Linked DNA regions of Homo sapiens: region 2 is linked to region 1. The links are contacts of gene promoters, found by promoter capture Hi-C in human tissues and cell types (Jung and others, 2019). All regions are on one chromosome and are shown on one strand. The core of a region is centred on a gene start or on the middle of the fragment in contact, and the rest is flanking DNA. Distances in the headings are between cores, read along the strand shown.

The links. Contacts are between HindIII fragments. The study calls those that stand out against the background at their distance.
Region 2: a contact is called between the fragment with the promoter of SUMO3 here and the fragment with the promoter of KRTAP12-1 in region 1, in 1 of the 25 tissues and cell types used here (mesendoderm cells).

The regions. Positions count from the first base shown.
Region 1 is chr21:44,679,220-44,685,625 of GRCh38, reverse strand. KRTAP12-1 (keratin associated protein 12-1) reads left to right here and starts at 3,463. Exons shown (of 1, transcript NM_181686.2): 1 at 3,463-4,050. The coding sequence starts at 3,503. The coding sequence ends at 3,793. The region is part of intron 1 of TSPEAR (thrombospondin type laminin G domain and EAR repeats); the gene reads left to right. The HindIII fragment of the contact is 13,337 bases long and covers 1-6,406 here.
Region 2 is chr21:44,813,003-44,819,735 of GRCh38, reverse strand. It overlaps SUMO3 (small ubiquitin like modifier 3), which reads left to right and starts at 1,674. Exons shown (of 4, transcript NM_006936.3): 1 at 1,674-1,788; 2 at 5,632-5,760. The coding sequence starts at 1,768. RefSeq lists silencers at 1,063-1,162, 1,183-1,762, 1,943-2,142 and an enhancer at 3,822-4,336. The HindIII fragment of the contact is 28,474 bases long and covers 1-6,733 here.

The DNA.
Region 1 (6,406 bases), core at 2,214-4,713:
TGTGACCACAGTGGGCTTCCTGACACCACACCTCAGAAGTGCCCACTTCCCACGAGTAGCACTAATGGCCACAGGACACCTCCTCTGCAGACGGAGCCCAGGAGGACCCATCACAGAGGAGGGCCTGAGCTACTCATGTCTGGTTCCTCTCCCTCGCTGTGGGTCTGGTCAGTCTCACCCCTGCAGAGGCAGCTTGGGGGAAAGTGAGGAGCTGGTGTGAAATTCCAGGATGCCCCTGAACTTGGGAAGCAGCGGGCAGGAGTGTGGATGGCACGCTCCTCCTCACACTCCAGCTCTGTTCTCTCGATGGATTGGCCACAGCGCTTTATTCTACGGTGGTGTCACACAGTAGGGGTATGAGCCATCTCTCACGGCAGAGCTACTCCCTCCATCCCAGGCAGCTCCCAGGGGCACCCTCTGCTCCTGTGTGGGTCCTCCTGTGCCTGCTGGTGGTGGATATGGGTGATTCCTGCCAAGAAGCCTTCAGACAAGTCAGACACCATGTTAATGAAATCCCCTCCAAGGCTGAAGACCAAGTGGGGTCTCAGAGCTGTGGACAGAACTTAGAAGTCTATGGACCCAGAGCCGATCTGTGGCCATGTGAGAGTGACCTTAAGGCCTAGGGACAAGCCGGGCGAGGCCACAAGTTCAGCCCTGTCACAGGCAACTCCTTTCACTGCTATAGTTCAGAATCACACTTAAAAACCAAGAGAATTGGGGCAGCCACAGTGATCACATGTTCCTATGTGACCTAGTCACCAAGTAATCCATTTTAAAGGTTAGCTGTCTTACAAGTTGACTACAGAAGAATGAGGATGCATCTTTGATATTTACCTGCTCCTTTACCTTCCCCCATCTCCTTCCTGTAGGTCAGGGCCCACCTGGCCTCGTCCTAGTCAACCTAAAGCACATCCGTGCACGTTGCCTGGCCCTTACTCCTTCCTGCAGGTCAGGGCCCACCTGGCCTCGTCCTAGTCAACCTAAAGCACATCTGTCCACGTTGCCTGCAGCGCACATCTGCAGGGGAGGATTTCTCCCAGCTTTTGTTCCTCTGAACAGATTTTCACTTCAATCTCAGTTTCTGGGGTTTTTTGAGACCCTTCTTGCTTGGTCACCCAGGCTGAAGTGTGATGGTGCAGTCATAGCTCACTGCAGCTTCGAACTCCTGGGCTCAAGCTATCCTCCTGCCTCATCCTCCTGAATAGTTGGGACTACAGGTGCACACCGCCACCCCTAGCTAATTTTTAAATTTTCTGTAGAGATGTGCTCTTGCTTGTTGCCTAGGCTGGTCTACAACTCTTGGGCTCAAGTGATCCTCTTGCCTCAGCCTTCAAAGTGCTGGGATTAGAGGTGTGAACCACAGTGCCCGGCCCGGCCTCAGTCTCAGTCTTTAAGCACGTTCTTCATAGATGTAGACTTCCGGATTGCCAGTTATTGTTGCTCAGCATTTTAAAGATGTGTCTCCACTGTTTCTCATGAGAAGCCAGGGCGTTTTTCTTATCCTTGTTCCTTTGTATGTAAAGTGTCTTCCTGTCACTGCTTTTGAGATTTTGTCTTCATTTTTGGTTTTCATCACTTCATGATGTGCCTGGATGTGGTTTTCTTCCTATTTATCCTACTGGGGGCTTTCTGAGATTCCTGGATTTGGACGTTGTTGATTTTTGAAGTCAAATTTGGTGTATTTAAAATTTCTAACTACTGTACTTTTCAGTTCTAGGATTCCCATTTTAAAAAATAGCTTCAATTACTCTACTGAGATTCCCTATTTATCCATTCATGAAGACAATGTTTTCCTTTAATTATTTGAACAGTTTTCTTGGATTTTTTGGAAGATGTCTATAATAGCTGCTTACAGTCATCATTTGCCATGTCCAATATCTAGACCATATCAGGTTTATTTTTTTTAACAGTGAATTAAATTTACCTATATCTTTTAATATCTGATGATTTGTTTTTTGAGACGGGGTCTTGCTCTGTTGCCCTGGCTGGAATGCAGTGGTGTGATCATAACTCATGGCATCCTCAACCTCCCAGGCTCAATAGACCCTCCTGCCTCAACCTACCGTGTAGCTGGGACCACAAGCATGCACCACCATGTCTGGCTAATTTTTAACCATTTTTTTGTAGAGACAGAGTCTCACTATGTTGCCCAGGCTGGTCTGAAACTCCTAGCCTCAAGCAATCTTCCCATCTTGGTCTCCCAAAGTGCTGGGATTACAGGCATAAACAACCGTGCCTGGTCAATATCTGATGATTTTGATTGTGTATGAGGTATCATAATAATGCATTTACAGACTCTGAGCTGTATCATGTTTCTGATTTTTGTTCTAGCCGTCAGTTACTGGAGAATGACCTTAATCTTGTGCAGTTTTTGTTCAACACTTTGCTAGGGTGGATCTCTGGGAAGCATCTACAACTTGGAACACTCTGTATCTTGGTGGGACTCACATTCCAAACTGTCTTCCCTAAAAATCCTATTCTGAATTGGTTTAGGCTTTGTTCGGGCTGGCCTAGGCGGGTCTCACTGTAGTCTGTGGTCCTTACTCATTTGGTGCCGGGCTGTAGGGGGTCTCGGCTGGATGTCGACGTGGGGACTGGAGGGGGGCTTCACTCTCAATCCTCTAGCAGCTTCTCTCTGGTGAGCCTGTGGTTGCCTTGCCCTGGGAATGCACAGCCCTGCCCCGTTCCACAGATTCACAGTCAGCTTCCACAGTGTGGGGCCTGCTCTCCACACGGATCCTTCTTTCCGCTTCTCTGCTCCTCGGACTCCAGGGCTTCAGCTGCTTGAGCGCTGGCCCCTTCCTCCTCGGCAGAGTTGGGTCACTGTATTCTGCTCTGACTCCGGCTGGTGACACTGCATTTTGGAAGGTGACACTGCATTTTGGAAGCCTGCCCCAGCAGAGAGCTGGGAAATGGGAGTTTATCTCCTAAGTTTCTTCTCTCTCAGGAAGCACAGTCTGCACTGCTGGTTGACGGCTGCCTGAAAACGAGCATCTCCTAAATCTCAACTGTATAGTTGATAGAGTAGCCAGCTTTGCATCACTCACTCCAGCAGGTTCCCCAGTATGATTTCATTGTCTATATTCAGTTCTGGTCTCTTCCCCAAAGTTTCTGGTTGATGCAACAGAAGTTGCGGTTCGAGGAGCTCTTTTGGGTACCACTCATGTCTGCTTCAGCGTAGAACTAACGAAGGGAGGCAGATATCAGGCAGGTGGAGCTAAAACTGCCTGTGCATCACTGATAAATTTGGGCAGGTTTCCAAATGTAACAAGAGCTTGAAGAGGGTGCAATTAGTCACGAAACAAAGGGCCAGATAAAAAACATCATCTACGACAGAAAACTGAGTTCCAGGAAACAGCCTTGAGGAAGAAAAACAAGGAAGACAACAGGTGTGTGCTTCTGTGCTGTGGGGATGCCTGGGTCCAGGTATAAAGGCTACCCAGGGAGGCCATCCCCAGACATCACTGCCCTCTGCCTCGACCTTATCCAGCCACACGCCACCATGTGCCACACCAGCTGCTCCTCGGGCTGCCAGCCAGCCTGCTGCGCGCCCAGCCCCTGCCAGGCATCCTGTTACATCCCCGTGGGCTGCCAGTCCTCCGTGTGCGTGCCCGTGAGCTTCAAGCCAGCCGTGTGTGTGCCCGTGAGATGCCAGTCCTCTGTGTGCGTGCCCGTGAGCTGCAGGCCCGTCGTGTATGCGGCTCCCTCCTGCCAGTCCTCTGGGTGCTGCCAGCCTTCCTGCACCAGCGTCCTCTGCAGACCCATCTCCTGCAGCACCCCTTCCTGCTGCTGAGCATGAATCTCCAGACCCGCTGCTCCCAGTGCAGATGAGGCCACACCTGTACACTCCCTGGATGAGTCCTCAGTTGGTCTTCTGCACATGGTGCAGGTGAAAAGCATGCTCAGTGAACCCTCTGAATTCTGGATCGAGAATATAATAGAATGATCTGGAGCCCTGGCTGAACTTGCCTATCCCCCCAGGGAAGTCTGGGGTCCCAGAGTCATTCTCTGACCCCATGAGAGTCAAATAAACCAGCTTTCCCCATGCAACTCTGCGTTTCTTGTCTCTCTTTTTTATTTCTATACTCCCCGCTATCTATTCTGCTGATTACATAGAATTTGCTGCTAAACCCTCTTCAGTGATCCCTTCACCCAGTGCTCATCAGAAGGTGGTGTCCCGGGTGGAGGGCGCGGCTGCAGATGCCCATGTGGTCTCTCCCAGGGCTCCTGGGGCCCAGCTGCAGTGGCCACAGCGGTGACTTACCCGCCTGTGGTGGAGTGGCCTCGCTTCCCCACTGGCTGTCCACTCCTGCTCCAGGCCAGCAAGCCCTGCATTGATGGCCAAAGCCTCAGAGCACTGAGGATCGGGCTTTCCCATGTGGTTGGTGGATGTCCTGCTTCCCGGGTCGCGGAGGATCTCAGGTTTACAGAACTGGATTAGTTCTGCAGCACACACTCCCATCACTGATCTACATATGGCACTTTTTAAAAATTGATACATAATATGTTTACATATTTATGGGGCATATGAAATACTTTACACACAGAGGATACGTAATGATGAAATCAGGATATTCATCACCTTGTCTATCATTTCTCTGTGTTGAGGACATTTTACACTCTCTCTTCTAGCTGATTTGAGACATACAATACATTGTTAACTGTAGTCACCCTATGCTGCTATCAAATATTAGAACTTATTCTTTCTGTGTAACTGTATGTTTGTACCCATTAACCAAACTCACTTCTCCTCTAACACACACCGTTCTTCACCTCTGGTAATATCATTCTACTCTCTACTTCCATGAGATCAACTTTGTGAACTCCCACATGTGAGTGAGAACATGTAATATTTGTCTTTAATGACCTTCGGTTCCATCCATGTTGCTGCAAATGGCAGGACTTCATTCTTTTTTATGGCCGAATAAGATTCCATTGTAAATATATACCACAGTTTCTTGATTCATTTATTTATTGATAGACATTTAGGTTGAATCTGTATCTTGGCTATTGTGAATAGTGCTGCAATAAACATGGGGGTGCAGGTATCTTTTTGATACACCAATTCCCTATCCTTTGAATAAATAGTAGCAGGATTGCTGGATAGTATGGTAGTTTTATTTTAGTTTTCTGAGAAATCTGTATACCGTTTTTGATAATGGCTGTACTAATTTACACTTCCACAAATGATGTATAAGAGTTCCCTTTTCTCCACATCTTTACCAGCATCTGTTATTTTTTGTCTTTTTGATAATAGCCATTCTAATTGGGGTAAGATGATGCTATCTCATTGTAGTTTTGATCTGAAGTTCCCTGATGATTAGTGATGTTGAGTTTTTTTTAATATACCTGTTGGCCATTTGTATGTCTTCTTTTGAGAGATGCCTATTCAGGTGCTTTGCCCATTTATTAATGGAATTATTTGTTTTGTTGTTGTTGTTGAGTTGTTTGAGTTCCTTACATATTCTGGATATTAGTCACTTGTCAGATGCATAGTTTACAAATATTTTCTCCCATTACACAGGTTGTCTCTTCACTCTGTTGATTGTTCCGTTTGCTGTGCAGAGCTTTTCAGTTTAATATAATCTCATTTGTCTATTTTGGTTTTTGTTGCCTGTGTTTTTGTAGTCTTAGCCATAAACTGTTTGCCTAGACCAATGTCCTGGAGCATTTCATTTATGTTTTCTTCTAGTAGCTTTATGGTTTTCGGTCTTATGTTTAAGGCTTTGATACATCTTGAGTTGATTTCTGTATATGATGAGAGGTAGGGATCCAGTTTCATTCTTCTGCATGTGGCTATCCAGTTTTCCCAGCACCATTTATTGAAGGGGTGTCCTTTCTCTATTGTATGTTCTTGGCACCTTTGTTGAAAATCAATTGGCTGTAAATATATGGATTTATTTCTGGGTTCTCTATTCTGTTCCATTGATCTATGTGTCTGGTTTTATACCAATACTATGCTGTTTAGCCTTGTAATATATTTTGAAGTCAAGCGGTGTGATACCTACAGGTTTGTTCTTTTTGTTCAGGATAACTTTGGCTATTCAGGGTCCTTTTTGGTTCCATATGAATTTTAGGACTGTTTTTTCTACTTCTGTGAAACATGTCATTGGCATTTTGATAGAGATTGCATTGAGTCTGTTGATTGCTTTGGATAGTATGATCTTTCTAACAATATCATTTCTTCTGATCCATGAACATGGAATGTCTTTCCATTTGTTTGTGTCTTCTTCAATTTATTTTATCAGTGTTTTGTAGTTTTCTTTGCAGAGGTCTTTCACATCCTTGGTTATATTTATTGCCAGGTATTTTATTTTTAAAATAGCTATTGTGAATGAGATTGTGTTCCATGGGCAGGTCTATGCAAACCTACCCCCAAAGTTCAAGGAAGCTGAGAGGCCACAGA
Region 2 (6,733 bases), core at 425-2,924, 140 kb before region 1:
ATCTGAGCCTCTTTTTCCCTTATCCATGACTGTAGTCACGCATCACTTCGTGACACAGCAACTGGCGTAATTTCGAGCGGTAACACATTTGGGTTCTGTGTCTCATGATTTCTAAGCTGCGTGTTTCTCACTTCCACAACACTGAAGCGGGCTGCCGTCATCCACAGCCTGCCGGAGTTTAGTGTGTCTGTGCTACCTACGGTCGTGTTGTTTTATGATTAACGGTGTCTTGGAGTCGATAACTCTCTGAACCCTGCCTGCCCTAGGGCACTTCCAGGGCCAGCAATCTGTGGGCTCTGAGGCGCCACGTCCCCTCGGAAGGGGCTGGTTGCGGAGCCCCCTCCCAGGACCGTCTGAGCTGGCCACCCACCTCCACATCCTCTGCTGAGGCCCTGGGCTCCAGGTTCCAGAAGGAAGGGACCACACCTTATGACCTGCCTGGGACTGGGGCTGACTCTCAGACCCTCTCCCCGAAAGACTTCAGCAGCCTTCCCCCTCCTAAGTGGGGGCTCTAGCCAAGAAAGTGAATTTTTGAGTAGAAGACGGTTTGTGAAGTTATGGTCCATGAAGACTTGTCTCCATGGCTTTGCGACGTTGCTCAGTTGGCTGAGCCTTTCCCAGGCAGGACAGAAACGGCTCAGACGCTTAGGTTCAAATCCAGGCCCTGCCATTTCCCAGCTGAGCCTGAAGTGCGGCCTCCCCCGCCTTCGGCCGGGCTCACCATCAGATGAGACCTCCGCCACGCCCCGGCTGGCACCACCCGGGCACTCCTGAGGGACGCAGGGGTGTCCGCCCTCAGGTCCGTTCCATCCGAGGCCCTGGGATCACAGACATGGAGGCCGGGGCGGGCCAGGCACCCCAGGAATGGCGCCCGCAAGTCCGGGGAGGCCGTCCTGCCGGCCCAGCGCGTTTCCCGCGTCCACGAGGTCCCCGTTCCGCCGGCACTGGCGGCGTCCAGCCTGGGTTTGCCCGCGCTCGCCGACGTGGCGGCCTGGCCAAGCTCGGCGCCGCTCACCAGCGCTGACCTGGGGGTGGTTTGACCTCCCAGTGCCTCAGTTTCTTCACAGGTAAAACGGGTCTTCTTGAGGACGGGTGTGGAGGGCCCGGGGCAGCCCCGTAGGAGCGTTGGCCAAAGGAGCCCGGCCTGGGGCTGACAGGAAACCGCGGCGGCAGGGAGGCGGGTGGCGCCCCCAATCGTCTAGGGTGCTGGCCCGATTCGCGCGGCCCCCGCGGACGGGACCCCGCGGGCCGCCTTCTCCGCTCTGTCCGCGGCTCCTGAGAGGGAACGTCACCCCCAGCGTCCTCCCTCCTCCGCCCCAGGTCCCTGCGGCCATGGGCGGCGGCCCCGGCCTCACTTCCCGGCGCCCCAGGAACGCGGCCCCCAGGAAAGGAGTCGGGGCCCGGGCGACGCGGGGAGGCGGGCAAGGGTCCCCAGGGCCCGGGCTCCCCGTAAACGCTCCTGGCCCGCGCCCCACAGCGCCCTAGGGCTTCCGCGCCCGACGGGGTCGCGCGGGACCCGCCCCGTGACGCATCTCCAACCGCCCAGAGCCGCGGCCCGGCCTGCGCGCGCCCGACGCCCCGGGGAGCGCGCCTCGTGAACGCGCGCAGCCACGTGACCCCCGTGCCGGCCAACGGGTGCGCCGGGATTTGGGGGATAAAGCGCGGCCCCGCGCACAGTTGCGGCGGGAGAGCGGCGGGGCCGAGAGCGTGACTCGCCCGCTCCGCGCTGCTTCCCCCGCGCCGCCTCCCCGCGCCGCTCGCGCAGCCATGTCCGAGGAGAAGCCCAAGGTAAGCGCGGCGACCCCGCCTGCACGCGCGTCTATCGCGGGCGTCCCGCCCCCAGCCCGGCTCCGCCCCCACCCCGACTCCGCCCCGCGTCCCGCCCCTGACAGGCTCCGCCCCTCCCCGCCCTCTAGAGCCCCGCCCCTAAGTGGGCCCGCCCAAGGTGCGCCCCCTCTGCCCCCGCGAAGCGCGCTGTGCCGCGAGCTCCGCCCCCTCCGGGCCTGGCCACGCCTCCGCTCCACGCCCGTCTCCTCCCCAGCTGGGAAGGCGCGCGCCCAGCGCCTCCTTGAGCGCCCGGTGTCGGGCCCCGCGCTGCTGCTCCTGCAGAGCGCGGCGCCCTCGGATCCCGCCCCAGCAGTGTCCCCGAAGCGTCTTTGCGTGCTCCTCTCCTGAGTCATTGCTGGTTGGGGTCGCCCTCTCCCCCGGCATCGCCCTGGGTGCGGGATCCTGTGTCGAGTGCACGGAGTCGGCTCGGGAACAAGCGTCTGGGGTTACCCCCAAGGGGCGCGCTCTGAGGGGCCTGGCCCCTGTGAGCAGCACTGCCGTCCTTCCAGGGCGCCCATCGCGACCCCGGTATTCACCCACTTCTCCGCATCGTGTCCCGGCCATCGCGTCCCCCAGTGTGCGCCCACCCCTCTCCTTCGTGTCTCCCCAATCGTGCCCTCAGTGTGCACCTACTCCCACCCATCGCGCCCCGTGTGCACCCACCGCCTCCATCGCGTCCCCCGGTGTGCGCCCACCCCTCCCCATCGCGCCCCCCGGTGTACGCCCACGCCTCCCCATCACGCCCCCCATGGTGTGTACCCACTCCTCCCCATCATGCCACCTGGTGTGCGCCCACCCGTCCCCATCATCGCGTCCCTGGTGTGCGCCCACCCCTCCCTATTGCGTCGCCCTCTCCATCACACCCCCAGTGTGTGCTCACCCCTCCCCGTCGCGTCCCCCAGTGTGCGCCCACCCCTATCCATCGCGTCCCCCTTTCCATCACACCCCCAGTGTGCGTCCACCCCTCCCCATCACCCCCTCCACGATGTGCGCCCACCCCTCCCCATCACGCCCCCTATAGTGTGTGCCCACCCCTCCCTATCACGCCCCACGGTGTGCGCCCACTTCTCTGCATTGCGCCTCCCCCACCATGCGCGCCCACCCCTCCTTATCCAGCCTTGGGTGGGCTTTAGTCTCCCCCATTGCCATGCTGGGGTGTGCCTCCCTCCAGTCTCAGTCCTGGGGTATGCACCCTGCATTCAGGTGCACTGGCCATTCCTTCTCGGGAGGGTCTGTAGTCGCATTCTCCAGTGTTCATAAAAAGAGAACCTTTCCGAAGCCCTTGGTGTGCACTGTCGGCCTCTATGTTACATCCCAGTGGAAGATGACTAGAGCTGAAGGCTCTGTAAAGAGGCTGTCTCTGATACTGGCCTGGTCCTGGAGGTGACCACCCTCCCTTTACAGATGAGGGTGGAGGCTCAGTGCCAGACACTGGCGGGAAGTGGGATGGAACCGTCAGGAACCATGGTCGCGGCCTCTATGGAAGTCTGCACTCTGCTTGCTGTGGTCAGACTCCAGGGAAACCTGCCCTATCCAGATGGCATTTGGGGTGACCTTTGCTTTTTACATTTTGACTCCAGTGAAGTCAAAGTTCTCCCACTCTGGGGTTGTTTGAATATTTAAATACTTGTTAAAACTAGGTCAAATATAAATGTCCTTTATGTTTTTGTAGGTGGCTTCCTCTTAATGAAGAGTAAATGTAATAAAATACATATGATATTAATTTTCTCAGCAGTATTTACACTTAGCTCTGCCATGTGGTCAATCTCAGGCTCCAGTTCCGTTGAAAACACTTGTTTAATTCCAGAATGACTGAGTGGCTGCCACCTCACAGGCCCCGCTTCTGGTGGGTCCCCTCTGAGCCCATGTGGGAGCAGCTCTGCCCTCTGGGGCTCTGACGAAGGGGAAGAGGTGGACTCTGGGGCCCGGTGGTGCTGGAAAGAAGAGCTTTTAGGTCAGGCAGGAGAATGGTTCTGACTTCCCTGGATAGCTGAGGTGGAGGATTGACTGTAGCAAACTGAGGCCCATGTTTTTAGGGCTTCACTTTTTAACTCACGAGTTCACTTGCTTATTAGGAATTCACCAGGGGTCTGGGACAGATCGTCATTCTGTTTGGAGCAGAGGCACTGTGGCCGGCCCTGCCCTGCCCCAGCCTCTCCCGGGGCTGCAGCCATTCCCCCCGGGGCTGCAGCCATTACCCTGTGGGGGACGTCTGGGCCCTGCATCTGTGCCTTTGAACACACTCATACCTTCCTTCCCTAAAGAAGCCAGTGCATCCTCATGCTTGGGGAAGTGAAGGGGGCTCATGCAGGGGTCCCCACTTCCATCCTGCCTGGAGCTGTTTGCATGCTCTTCCTTCCTAGGCCAGTTGTCTCTGTGCTGGAGGCCACATTCGGGATGGGGAGATGGGGGTGTGCCAGCTCACCACTCAGGCTGCCGCCAAGCCACTGGCATCCCGGGAGTGGGCAGGGGTGTCTGGCCCAAGACTGGAGTCGGGGGGTGAGTGCCGCCCCAGGACACGCACCTTCAGGCTCGCAGCTGGAGCCCCTCACTGCCAAGGCCCCTTGCAGGCCACTCTAGCTCCCTTGACAGAGCACCATGCCTCCCCAGGGTCTCCCCAGGGTGCATACCCCAGGGAAGCAAGCATGGGTGCAGTCCCTGGGTTCACCCTCAGGCGAGCCTTCTACATCCCACTCCCTGTATTTAGGCATCGCTGGGACAGTTGTCCCTCTCCCAGCCAGGGAAGGAAAGGAGAAGTGGAGAGAACAGGCGTGTGATGTACAGTGCTTCCTGAGGGCAGCAGCTCAGCATGGGGTGAAAGGGTACCAGGACGCCCCAGACTTGACTTTCAGAGTGAGCCGGAGGGCCCTGCCTCATTGCTTCACTCACAAACGACTTTATCCCAGCAGTGCAGGCCGGCAGAGGGGTGCCCCACTTTTCGGCTCAGACTGAGCTGCCCCGAAGTTGGCTCCCAGTCTCTTGACATCAGCTTTTTGCCTCAACTCAAAATGCATTTTCAGGCAACAAGACACCCCGATTGTGCCATTGTTGAGTAGCTTCAAGTATGGCATGAATTAAAAAATAAAATAGTACCACCTACTGCCGCTCAGATAGGACAGTTTGAAACCAGAAAGTACTCGGAGGTGGCTTCCCTCACATTTGCTGATGTCAGGGCAGCGAGAAGGAGCCTGGCCGCCTGCTGTGGGGAGTGGCCGTCCTCAGTTGGATTCCCGAAATCACCACTTGAATGTCCCATAGGGTTCCTCTGAGTCACAAATGTTTTCTTCTGTTTTTGGTTTCTTTTACTAGTGCTGTATAGCTGCATGACTTTTGGATATGTGTTTTTACTGGTTTCATAAGAATTTTTTAAAAAAGAGATGGGGTCTTGCTCTGTTGCCCAGACTGGTCTCAAACTCCTGGGCTTACGCCATCCTCCCACGTCAACTCCCAAAGTACTGGGATAACAGGTGTGAGCCACTGTGCCCAGCCCACAAGAATAACTTTAAAATAAAGATGGATTTTCTCTTATTTTTCCCTAGACTTTGTTTTTTTCTTTGAATTAACAATGTCAGAGGACCCTAGGCTTGCATTGTTTTACACATGGATGCTTAACAAGTGGAAGTTAAAAATAAATTCTGTGTAAAAATAAAACCATCACGAGTGACTCTGAATTGCTGGAGAATTTTAAGAATTAGGTTGGTTTTGATGACTTTAAAAAGCCAACAATTACCTAAAGACTTGCCCATTCAAGTCGCGGTTATTTTGAGACACAGTTTTGAGGCCAGTCTCTGGTGTCTTCTGCAGGAGGGTGTGAAGACAGAGAATGACCACATCAACCTGAAGGTGGCCGGGCAGGACGGCTCCGTGGTGCAGTTCAAGATCAAGAGGCACACGCCGCTGAGCAAGCTGATGAAGGCCTACTGCGAGAGGCAGGTGCGGCACCTTGCTCCCCCGCAGAGCCTCCCCGTGTGCGCACTGGTCCTGTGCGTTCCAGGCATCCCCAGAGCACGAGCGTCTCGGGGCTGGACCCAGATGCAGCTGCCCGAGGTGCCCTCTTCGTGGATGGGCAGGCGGGGGCTTGTGCTGTAAAATTAGTCCAGGCTGGGCTTGTCCCCCATGGCCTTTTATAAGGTGGAGGGACCTAGAGGCTCGGAGAAGTGTGGTGGGTTTTTCTTCCTGACAGGGCGGCTGCCCGGGGTGCTGTGTTCTCCATGGGGTACTAACATCTGTGAAGTCTGTGATGCTGAAGGCTCTTGGGGGCCCTGCTCAGGTCTGGCCATTCTGGGGCTGCAGGTGGCGTGTGCCCCACGCCGCTGTCACCCTGTCCTCGCGTATGAGCTGGCCTGACCCTGGAGAGACACTGCCCTCATGTGCGGTGTGGTTTTCCATTTTGTTAGGAAAGGCAAGAAAGCGCGTGATTCTTTCCCCTTCTTCCCCAGTTTCAGGATAATGAGCTGCCCCACTGGCAGTGCCCAGCTGGGTGGATGCCTTCTGGCTGCTGTTTGTGACGTGGTGTGTGTGTGTCTGTTGTTCTTGGTAACGCTGTGGCGGACTCACCCTGGGCCAGGGGGTCCCTCTCTAGGCCACTTTTATGGGCTTTGCCCACCAGCTGCTGCCTGGTGTGTTGGGGGCCCGGCCCTGCAGCCAGGCGCCCTTCCCCAGGGAGCCCTGCTTGCCTGAGTGGGACCTAGAGGCTGCTTTTCTTCAGCCGCTTTGAAAATACAGCAACTCGTTGCCCTTTTATTTTACTCTTTTGCCTGTGGATTTTCAGTTAGATTTCCTCCTCTTTCCCTCCCACTTTGGATACCCTGCTCATAGGGGCAGTCACTGGCGACTGCCTTGCATTCTTTATTGGCAAGCAGCCCCTGACTTCCTTTCTTTGTGTTTGCTGAGGGCAGATCTTATT